4 separate regions of the Homo sapiens genome follow, and all the other regions are linked to region 1. The links are contacts of gene promoters, found by promoter capture Hi-C in blood cells and fetal thymus (Javierre and others, 2016). All regions are on one chromosome and are shown on one strand. Each heading gives the region's core, a stretch centred on a gene start or on the middle of the fragment in contact. The rest is flanking DNA. Distances are from core to core; before and after follow the strand shown. Region 1 holds the start of MYBPHL (myosin binding protein H like). Region 2 overlaps SARS1 (seryl-tRNA synthetase 1). Region 3 overlaps ELAPOR1 (endosome-lysosome associated apoptosis and autophagy regulator 1). Region 4 overlaps PSMA5 (proteasome 20S subunit alpha 5).

Region 1 (2,700 bases), core at 174-2,673:
TGCTGCCTGTCACTTATTCTCTGGGCCTTTTAAGGGAAGAAACTGGTTTTCTGCCTCCATCACCCCAGCTTAATATATTTACACTAACTTTTGCTCCCTTCATCTTCAACGGGACAAACTTGGCCAGCTCTCTGCCCTTGACATTCAAATAGTTTCTGGAAACCTGGCCTCTCCCATGAGGATAAGAGGCAGACAGAGTCTGCTGCACAACCCTATGGAGGTAGAACGCAGCCTTCACCTCTCACTTGGAAATATTTGATCATTTATTTACATCTTAGTTTGGCCTCTTCCAAGGCACCCTGGATCATCTCAGCAATCCTTTCAACTACCCTGATAGGTAGATGTTATTAATCACCATTTTACAGAGTGAAAATGGAAACTGAGCAGTCCAGTGACTTGTCCAAGGTCACAGGGCTGTTAGAGGCGGCACTAGGAATTGAGCCTAGAGCTTTGCCTCCAAGTCTAGTATATCTTTTCCCCTGCCTCTTCCTGCCCTAGGAGTCCACGTGTTTCTTGATTGTGGTCTTTTCATCCTCTTAAGACTTTCAGGTGAGCGCCACGAAGTGGTTAGCTACAGAGGCCTCAGCCAGGGCATTCAGGGATGGGCGGCAGGAAGCTCGGGGTTGGAATTCCTCACTTGGGAACGCCTCTTTGCTGAGAGGCACACAGAGACCATCGTGAAGGGGAAATTGAATGCTTCTCCCAGGAGAGCTCCACTTCCGTGGAGCTCAGACTCTGAGGGGTCAGGATCTCCTATGGGAGCAGTGGGGGATTGGAGGAGGTCCTGACCCCGTGGTACTGCCCAGCAGGAGGCCGAGTGTCACTGTGCTGCCCCACTCTTAGCCTCCCCATTGCCATAGCATTTTATTTCCCTGTTCCTTCAGCAGACAGTCACTATCTCTTACCCCTCAGTCCCTTCCTGACTGGCCATTAGTATATCAGGTCTTCCCAGTCCCTATGACAATTTTTTAAAAGGTAAAAATATAAACAGATCATTTTTAGTCACTGTAAAGTGCCACCAACACCATCACTGACTTCTCAGCTAAAACACAAAAACTTAGCAGGGACATTTGAGCAGCAAGTTAGACTCCATCAAGGACAGGGGATGGGGGCTCTCACGAATGATCTCCAGCCTAATCACCAATCCTATAGAGTCTTTAGCTCTGCAGAAAACCTGAGGCGCCGTTCAGGAAGGTGGCGATGTCTTCCCCAACTCCCACCACCCGGCCTCCCCACCCTCCCCACCTGCCATGGGTCACCTTCTATAGGGGGCAGGAGCTGGGGAGTGGGGCTGCCAGCCCCCTGTCCAGGTGAAGCCTGGGGTGGTTCAGCATCCGCTGGGCTGGCTTCTTTCACCTTCAGCTTGGATCCTGCGGCCACCTCCGGAGCTGTGGCTGCCTCCATGCTGGGCCTTCCCAGAGGCTGAGCTCCAGCTCTAGATTTTCACTGCTGGTGATGAGGGAGGGGCTGAGCACCTGCTCCCAGGCTGGCCTCCCGGGTCCCAGCCACAGGGTTACGTAACTGGGCTGGCCCTCCCCACTCAGCTACGCCCAGCAGAAAGGCTGAAGTAGGGGTTGGGGGAGAGAGGAGGATCAGACAGCAGCCCAGAATAGCCCCAGGAGGACTGAGGTGTCCCTGTTATCTCGGGAGAGAGATGACACCCCCCACAGCACCAGGGAGGGAGAGCTTGAACACACCATCCAAAAGGGACCTCTAATTTCTGTAGGGAGGGTTGAGTGACATCTCTGCTCCTGACCTCCAGTTCATCCCGTGGGGCATTCAGGTCCCAAAGAAGGGGCCCAGGATTAGCTGACTCACAGCAACGCCTGAACTGCTCTTTCTCCCTCTGCTCCCACATTCAATGAATTGTAAAGTCTTATCAACTCGACCTTTACAGGGCCTGTCCCATCCTCCCCCGCTCCCCGGGGGCAGCGGGCACAGCGCAGTGGTAGGTGGAGACTGCACTCGCACTGGCTGCCCAGGTGCCACTTGGGGCTCTGTCACCAACTAGCTGTGTGACTCACAACACCTCACAGTCTCTCTTCAGTCTGTTTCCTCATCTGTAAAATGGAGATAATTATAACCATAGGGTCGTTGTGAGGATTAAAGAGGTAATCTCTGTAAAGTGCTTAGCAGAGTGTAGCCGACTAAGTGCTTGATAAATGTAAGCTATTTTTAGGTCAGGCCAGCACTTCCCCCTTTGAGAGCTGTCAATGGCTGCCTTGCCTATTAGATGAAGTACAAATAAAGGGAGAGGCAGCAGTGGTGGAGGGAGGCGAGCTCAGAGACCTGCGTGTGACTTCTGGCTGTACCACTCACTCACCAGCTGGGACTCTGGGCAAATGGCCGACTCGGAGTCTCAAGTCCCAGTCTATGAAACAAGGGATGATGCCATGATTGTGTTGAGGATAAAATGATACAATCTATAGGAAAGTGGCCAGCTCACAGCAGGTGCTAGTCACATACTACAGGTCCTACATGATTTCCAGACTTAGCAAACCATCTTTCTATACGTGTTGTACATGCCATGGACACTGCCACCTATCATACTCCTACCTTCTTATCTCCAGAAGCCAGCATCCCTCTGCATTTTAAAATGCTTTAATTTTAGAGCAGTTTGAGAGTCACGGCAAAGCTGAGTGGAAAGTATAGGGTTCCCACAGCCCCCTACTCACCCCTGTATTTTTTTCATGGAAAAAA
Region 2 (2,700 bases), core at 187-2,686, 80 kb before region 1:
ACAACAACAAAAAATTATAGAACTTTGGAACTGCACCAGTAAAGAGCATAAAAAGATGACCTCGGGATTCTAGCACCTTACACTTAACTTCATGGCAGTCGGCATCTTTCTCTTTGACAATATTTTGTTACACTTTCAGCGTGTAACACTTTTAGCTGTGGAAAGTGATATTGATAATCATCCAGTTTCTTTCTGTGGGACTTAGTCATTCGCATACTAGAGGCCCCATAATTATGTTAATTCCCATGCATACTCCTCCCTGGGTGTTCTTTGGGACCTATGTACAGTCAGTGCCAGCTGGGTATTTTTTGAAGCAAGAAGATGGGATTGTGAGTGTTGTCATTCACAATAACATTCTTAGATCTGATTTTGTTGCTAGCCATGCAGGGAGTGTTCACTCCCACTGCCATTGAAATGGTAATGATAGTGCTTTAATTTGTAGAGCACTCGAAAGCATTCAGATACTTTCACAGACATCTTATTTTGGTTTTGATCCTTACTGCAGAGCTGGAGTGCAGATAGTACATTTGTCAGCCCTATTTAATGGGTAAGGGAATCGGCTTAGGAAATTAAAGAGCTTGCTTAAAATCATATTCTAACTTAGTTGCAGAGTCAAACCTTGAGCTCAGAACTTGAATTTGCTGCCCTGAGGGATTATCAAATAGCAAGGGAGCCTGGTAACTATCTTGCAAACATATCACCCTGCCTATGATGCCATTGCAAAAATCTTGAGATTTAGTCCATTTTTTCCCTACCTCTGTAGTCTGTTCTTATCAAGACTCATTCTGATAGTTTCAGATTTTTCCAACTTTTTTTCTTTTTTTCTGAGACAAAGCCTCATTTTATTGCCCAGGCTGGAGCGCAGTGGCACAATCATGGCTCACTGCAGCCTCAACCTCCTGGGCTCAAGCAGCCCTCCTGCCTCAGCCTCCCTAGTAGCATGCCACCACACTCGGCTAATTTTTTTTTTTTTTTTTTTTGTTGAGATGGAGTCTCCCTGTGTTGCTACTGCACCTGGCCAGATTTTTCCAACTTTTTAAGATGATTTTGCTCTGAGTCACTGAAGGGTGTGAGTGGAGTTATGGTTAGAATTTTGATTGTATGAGAATGTGTAATGAACCTAAAGGATTTCCATGCTTTACATTTAGGAGATTTAGTCCTTTTGTTCTTTCTTTTTTTTTTTTTGACACAGTGTCTTGCTTTGTTGCCCAGGCTAGAGCGCAGTGGCGTGATCATAGCTCACTGCAGCCTCCAACTCCTTGGCTCAAGCAGTCCTCCCACCTCAGCCTCTCAAGTAACTAGGACTATAGACACATGTCACTGTGCCTGGCTAATTTTTTAAAAAGTCACCCAGGCTGGAGTGCAGTGGCACAAGCATAGCTCACCACAGCCTCTAATACCTGGGCTCAAGCAGTCCCCCCGCCTCAGCCTCCCAAGTAGCTGAGACTACAGGTGTACTCCACTATGCCTGGCTAATTTAAAAAAAAAAAAAAATATATATATATATATATATACACACACACACACACACACACACACACACATATATATATATTTATTTATTTATTTATTTATTTATATTTAGATATGGGGTCTCACTCTGCTGCCCAGGCTGGTCTTGAACTCCTGGGCTAAAGTGATCTGCCCACCTCAGCCTACCATGTAGCTGGGATTACAGTTGCAAGCCACTGTACCTGGCTATACTTTGTTTTATTTATACTCACAAAGCGGATGCTAAATATTCTTATGCAAGTTTTGTTGAAGTCTCATGTATCTTATTATAATGACCTTTGACTAACTTTCTTTAACTCTTTTTTTTTTTTTTTTTTGAGACAGAGTCTTACTCTGTCACCCAGGCTGGAGTGCAGTGGTGTGATCTCAGCTCACTGCAACCTCTGCCCCCAAGTTCAAGCAAGTCTCCTGCTTCAGCCTCCCGAGTAGTTGGGATTACAGGTGTCTGCTACCGCGCCTGCCTAATTTTTGTATTTTTAGTAGAGACGGGGTTTCACCATCTTGGTCAGGCTGATCTTGAACTCCTGACCTCGTGATCCACCCACCTCAGCCTCCCAAAGTGCTGGGATTACAGGCATGAGCCACCGTGCCCTGCCAACTCTTTTTAATTTAAGAAGAATTTAACTCTTTAAGTGATCTTTTTAAATTCACCTGGTTTTGTGCAAGGATTACAAATGATGATTTAGCAGAATTATCATACGGAAGGATGAGAAGAGAAACTAGAGAGAACGAAATCCAACCCTGGTTACACCCCTGCCATTTTGTCAAATTACATTGATTGTTCTAAACTGAGTTCCAGATCCTGTGACTTTTTGTTTGTTTGTTTTCCTTGGCTGTCTGATATTTCATCATTCCATCCATCTTTCACCCTTAGCCTCAATGCTGGGATTGTTGTTAGCAGGTAGATAAGAATCTACACTCGGGGCCGGGTGCAGTGGCTCACGCCTATAATCCCAGCACTTTGGGAGGCCAAGGTGGGGGATCACTTAAGGCCAGGAGTTTGAGATCACCCTATCCAACAGAGTGAAACCCTATCTCTATTAAAAATACAAAAAAAAAAAAGGAAAAAAAAATTAGCCAGACGTGGTGGTGCACTCCTGTAATCCCAGCTGCTTGGGAGGCTGAGGCAGGAGAATCACTTGAAACCGGAAGGCGGAGCTTGCAGTGAGCCCAGATCACGCAAACTGT
Region 3 (2,700 bases), core at 83-2,582, 100 kb before region 1:
CCTCCTTAGACTGCGATTTCTTTTTTTTTAAATGAATGGGAGAACAGTTCACCCTGGGACTCTTGAGTCTATCTGGGACTGCTAGAATTCAGCAAAGGTGCAAAGCAGGGGATTTTTAAGATTTTTGGCTCATGCCTGTAATCCCAGCACTTTGGGAGGCCCAGGCTGGAGGATCTCTTGAGGCTGGGAGTTCAAGATCAGCCTAGACAACATAGGAAGACCCCATCTCTACAAAATAAAAAACAATCAGCTGGGTGTTGTGGAGCATGCCAGTAGTCTCAGCTACTTGGGAGGCTGAGGTGGGAGGATCACTTGAGCCCAGGAGTTGGAGGCTGCACTGAACTATGATTGTGCCATTGCACTCCAGCCTGGGCAACAGAGCGAGACCCTGTCTCTAAAAAACATGTATTTATTTATTTATTTATTGAGACGGAGTGTTGCTCTGTCTCCCAGGCTGGAGTGCAGTGGCATGATCTCAGCTCACTGCAACCTCCACCTCCCAGGTTCAAGTGGTTCTCCTGCCTTAGCCTCCCTAGATGCTGGGATTACAGGTGCTTGCCATCACACCTGGCTAATTTTTTTTTTTTGTATTTTTAGTAGAGACAGGGTTTCACCATGTTGGCCAGGCTGGTCTTGAACTCCTGACCTCAGGTGATCTGCCTGCTTTGGCCTCCCAAAGTGCTGGGATCACAGGTGTGAGCCACTGTGCCTGGCCAAAAACATTTTTTTAAAAGAAAAAAATTTTTTTTTTTTTGAGACAGAGTTTCGCTCTTGTTGCCCAGGCTGGAGTGCAGTGGCATGATCTTGGCTTACTGCAACCTCTGTTCCCGGGTTCAAGCGATTCTCCTTCCTCAGCCTCCCAGGTAGTTGCGATTATAGGCGCCTGCCACCATGCCTGGCTAATTTTTGTATTTTCGGTAGAGACAGGGTCTCACCATGTTGGTCAGGCTGGTCTCGAACTCCTAACCTCAGGTGATCCACCTGCCTTGGCCTCCCAAGTGCTGGGATTACAGGCATGAGCCACCACACCCCGCCTAAAAGAAAAAGATTTTTATTGTTCTCCAACTGACCCTGAAGGGAGCAAGCAGAATAGAGGGTATCTCATTTCTGTGTTTCCACAAAGCCACTGAAACAGGAATTTCATAAGGGTTCCTTCTGTCACCTATTTTCCATTTCTCTCCTTTGTCCCCAAACTTGCCCCTGTGCAGCAGCCAGCTCCTGTCACCATCTCTCTTTCAGAGGACTCCTGATGGATTTGACTCAGTGCCGCTGAAGACATCCTCAGGAGGCCTAGACATGGACCTGTGAGAGGCACTGCCTGCCTCACCTGCCTCCTCACCTTGCATAGCACCTTTGCAAGCCTGCGGCGATTTGGGTGCCAGCATCCTGCAACACCCACTGCTGGAAATCTCTTCATTGTGGCCTTATCAGATGTTTGAATTTCAGATCTTTTTTTATAGAGTACCCAAACCCTCCTTTCTGCTTGCCTCAAACCTGCCAAATATACCCACACTTTGTTTGTAAATTATGCCCTTGCTTGTATCTTGTTTCCCAAAATGGCCCATCCGCCAGAGCCATAGCTTCGTCTGCTCATAATTCTTATAGCTTTGGAATGAAAATATTTCTATCTTCTTAAGTATAGAAACTATTTCCTCTGTCCTCTAACTTAAGGGCAGAAACAGCTGGGAGTTTTCCTCGCATGCCCTCAGCTCATGATCTCTTCAGGAGAGAGGCTGGGTGAGGAGGGTGTCGGGGTTCCCTGGTGGATAATCTTCATAGCAGCCTGGATCCATTTCCCCTGGATAACCAGCTCAAAGGGAGTGAAAATGGTAGTCTGAGGGCAAGGGGAGCAAGGCCTGGGTAAGAAAAGCCTTGAAAAGCATAAAAAGAGGCCGGGCGCGGTGGCTCACGCCTGTAATCCCAGCACTTTGGGAGGCCGAGGCGGGCAGATCATGAGGTCGGGAGATTGAGACCATCCTGGCTAACACGGTGAAACCCCGTCTCTACTAAAAATACAAAAAATTAGCCGGGCGTGGTGGCGGGTGCCTGTAGTCCCAGCTACTCGGGAGGCTGAGGCGGGAGAATAGCGTGAACCTGGAAGGCGGAGCTTGCAGTGAGCCGAGATCGCGCCACTGCACTCCATCCAGCCTGGGTGACAGAGTGAGACTCTGCCTCAAAAAAAAAAAAAAAAAAAAAGAAAAGCACAAAGAGAGGCAACAAGGAATGTTTTTGTTTTTGAGACAGGCTCTCACTCTGTCACCTAGGCTGGAGTGCAGTGGCATAATCACTGTTCAGTGCAGCCTCAAGCTCTTGGGCTCAAGCTATCCTCCCATCTCAACCTCTCAAGTAGCTAGGACTACAAGTGTGCACCACCAGGCTCACTAATTTTTATATTTTTTGTAGACACAGGGTTTCACCATGTTGCCCAGGCTGGTCTCCAACTCCTGGGCTCAAGTGATCTGTCCGCCTCAGCCTCCCAAACTGCTGGGATTACAGGCATAAGCCACTGCACTCAGCCTTTTATTTGTTTTTTAAACCACGTAGCTCATTGCCTTCTCTTAAGTAAATGATAGATATTCTCACTGAAGCCAAAGGAATAAGTTCATCAAGAAAATGCCCAAAGCCCTGGTGGATACATCCTCCCTATCTTTTTTTTAAACCTTCCACTATCACTCTATGACACTGAAAAGAACCAGGTAA
Region 4 (2,700 bases), core at 191-2,690, 120 kb after region 1:
GTTCTCTAATTGTTTTATGTATAGTATACTGATCTTGAATCCCTAACTGAACAGAGTAGGACAGAATTCATATATACTTTTTATCTAGAAGAGTGATTCTCAATTGGGGGCCCTTTTGTCCCCACCAGACATTTGGCAAAGTCTGGAGACATTTTTGATGGTCACAACTGAAAGAGTGCTACTGGCACCTAATGGGTAGTACCCAGGAATTGATAAACATGCTAAAATGTACAAGATGGCCCTCCACAACAAAGAATTATCCAGTCCACGCCAGGTGTGGTGGCTCACACCTGTAAATCCCAACACTTTGAGAGGCTGAGGCAGGAGGATCACTTGAGCCCAGGAGTTTGAGACCAACTTGGGCAACATAGCAAGACCACATCTCTACCAAAAAAAAAAAAAAAAAAAAATTAGCCAGGCATGGTGCACACATCTGTACCCTAGCTGCTAGGGAGGTTAAGGTGGGAGGAAAGCTTGAGCCCAGGAGTTAGAAGCTGCAGTGAGCTAAGATGGTGTCACTGTACTCCAGCATGGGTGACAGAGTGAGACCCTGTCTCTAAAAAACCACTAAAACAAATCTCTTATTTAGTCCCTAAGGTGACTTTACCAACAAGAACACAAAGGTGGGCTGTGCGTGGTGGCTCACGCCTGTAATCCCAGCACTTTGGGAGGCTGAGATGGGCGAATCATTTGAGGTCAGGGGTTCGAGACCAGCCTGGTGGTACTGGGAGGCTGAGGCAGGAAAATCACTTGAACCCGAGGGGCGGAGGTTGCAGTAAGCTGAGATCACGCCACTGAACTCCAGCCTGGGCAACTGAGAGAGACTCCATCTCAAAAAAAAAAAAAAAGAAAGAAAAAGAAAGAATACAAAGGTGGTCAGATACATGATTTGCTAAAGAAAACAAAACAGAAAAAGTAATACAGGTGCTAATTCTGGACTTCTGTACCTCTCTTTATAGCTAAGAGGATCAAAAGCACAAATATGTCCCTCCACCCCCACTGAGAAAAAGCTATTTAGATAATTATGAAGCAGTTAACTGCTCAAAAAGTTTTAAAATAGATATTAGGAATAGGATTGAAACTGTTATAAAAATGGTTAACAGTGGTTGCTTAAAGGGATATAAGAACATTTTCTAAAGGAATGGTTAAACCACATTTACTCCAAGTGTTCTGCCAGCAAAATGTTAGGTAGCCATGAAATTTCAGGACCTATGCTACTTGCTACTATACCTTGATAGCCTCAATGGCATATTCCACTTGAAATAATCTTCCTTCGGGAGAAAAAGTATTCACGCCCCTATAATTTAAAAAAAAATTATTAATTATACTCATAAAAACTAGCCATGTAGACACTGAATTCAAGTTCCTTGACAACTAGCTCAGATAGCTACAGAATACGCACATTGTCATTATTCTCTACTTCGCCCACAACAATCTGTAGCATTTTTTTGTACATTAACAGTTTCTCAAGGCAATGGAACCTATATATAGAACACTTCTGCCTCACTCCCAGAAAGTCTTCCCAAATTGATGAAATGAGAGCAAATGACTTTTCTGCCTCAATCCTGAATCAACTTGGATCCATTCTGAATAGACTTACCAGTTCCTTTGGTAAGTTCATGCCTCAAAACTATCAGCCAATTTCCAAGAAAATGTGCATTTTTCCTTATCCTCTTCCCATAACATGCATATGACGTTAATACTTGGGGTTATCACTCTTCTTTCCATTCTCAATGCCCTCATTACCTTTCACCTAACGTTTGTAATAGTCTCCTAACAGGTATTGACTCGTGGAGCAAGTAGGAAGAGTTTTCCCCCTAATTCAGACAATCTCTATAAAACACAGTTATTACTTTTTTTTTTTTTTTTTTGAGACAGAGTCTCGCTCTGTCGCTCAGGCGGGTGCGATCTCAGCTCACTGTAACCTCCGCCTCCTGGGTTCAAGCAGTTATCCTGCCTCAGCCTCCCCAGCAGCTAAGACTACAGGTGCATGCCACCACGCCCGGCTAATTTTTGTATTTTTAGTAGAGATGGGGTTTCACCATATTGGCCAGGCTGGTCTTGAACTCCTGACCTCGTGATCCACCCGCCTCGGCCTCCCAAAATGCTGGGATTACAGGCATGAACCACTGTGCCTGGGCCTAATTATTACTTTTTACTAAAAGTTAGTCACAGGTACATTTCTCTACTTATTTGTATGAATTACTATTGTTATCTTAACAGACTGAGATCCATGTAGTTCCTAATTCTAACCTAGTTCATTCACTCAATATTTATATAACTTACATGTCAGACTGCTTTCCTCTCTAAACACTTCCCCTTAACACTTAACACTTTCCACCTTTCCTTGCTCAAGTGTGCTGGAAATCCCTACGGAGAAGAGGCACCAATCATGGTCTCAGCTATAAAAGCTTTGAGCACACAATGGACACAAAAAATATGTGAACAAATGAATGAGATGGTTGCAATCCGTGGTTTATGGAGTCCAGACTTTACAACAGGTAACATGTCATATAGTAGTGCTTTTGGCCTGGCGTGGTGGCTCACGCCTGTAATCCCAGCACGTTGGGAGGATGAGGCAGGCGGATCACCTGAGGTCAGGAGTTCGAGACCAGGCTGGCCAACAAGGTGAAACCCCGTCTCTACTAAAAACACATAAATTAGCTGGGCGTGGTGGCAGGTGCCTGTAATCCCAGCTAC

Evidence for each region. Contacts are between HindIII fragments. The CHiCAGO score rates a contact against its expected background, and 5 or more counts as called.
Region 2: a contact is called between a fragment that was not itself captured here and the fragment with the promoter of MYBPHL in region 1, in 1 of 17 cell types (M2 macrophages). The highest score is 6.1, in M2 macrophages.
Region 3: a contact is called between a fragment that was not itself captured here and the fragment with the promoter of MYBPHL in region 1, in 1 of 17 cell types (M2 macrophages). The highest score is 5.9, in M2 macrophages.
Region 4: a contact is called between a fragment that was not itself captured here and the fragment with the promoter of MYBPHL in region 1, in 1 of 17 cell types (M2 macrophages). The highest score is 5.0, in M2 macrophages.

What each region holds. Positions count from the first base shown.
Region 1 is chr1:109,305,588-109,308,287 of GRCh38, forward strand. It overlaps MYBPHL (myosin binding protein H like), which reads right to left and starts at 1,424. Exons shown (of 9, transcript NM_001010985.3): 1 at 1,260-1,424. The coding sequence starts at 1,404. RefSeq lists enhancers at 942-1,681, 1,682-2,420. The HindIII fragment of the contact is 12,327 bases long and covers 1-2,700 here.
Region 2 is chr1:109,225,185-109,227,884 of GRCh38, forward strand. All of the region lies in intron 2 of SARS1 (seryl-tRNA synthetase 1), which reads left to right. Among named protein-coding and RNA genes, the nearest start is that of SARS1, 13 kb to the left of the region's middle. RefSeq lists enhancers at 190-874, 875-1,559. The HindIII fragment of the contact is 7,808 bases long and covers 1-2,700 here.
Region 3 is chr1:109,201,705-109,204,404 of GRCh38, forward strand. It overlaps ELAPOR1 (endosome-lysosome associated apoptosis and autophagy regulator 1), which reads left to right. Exons shown (of 22, transcript NM_020775.5): 22 at 1,240-2,700. The coding sequence ends at 1,308. Among named protein-coding and RNA genes, the nearest start is that of SARS1, 11 kb to the right of the region's middle. The HindIII fragment of the contact is 3,218 bases long and covers 1-2,700 here.
Region 4 is chr1:109,420,630-109,423,329 of GRCh38, forward strand. PSMA5 (proteasome 20S subunit alpha 5) reads right to left here. Exons shown (of 9, transcript NM_002790.4): 2 at 1,231-1,297. Among named protein-coding and RNA genes, the nearest start is that of PSMA5, 4.5 kb to the right of the region's middle. The HindIII fragment of the contact is 1,938 bases long and covers 472-2,409 here.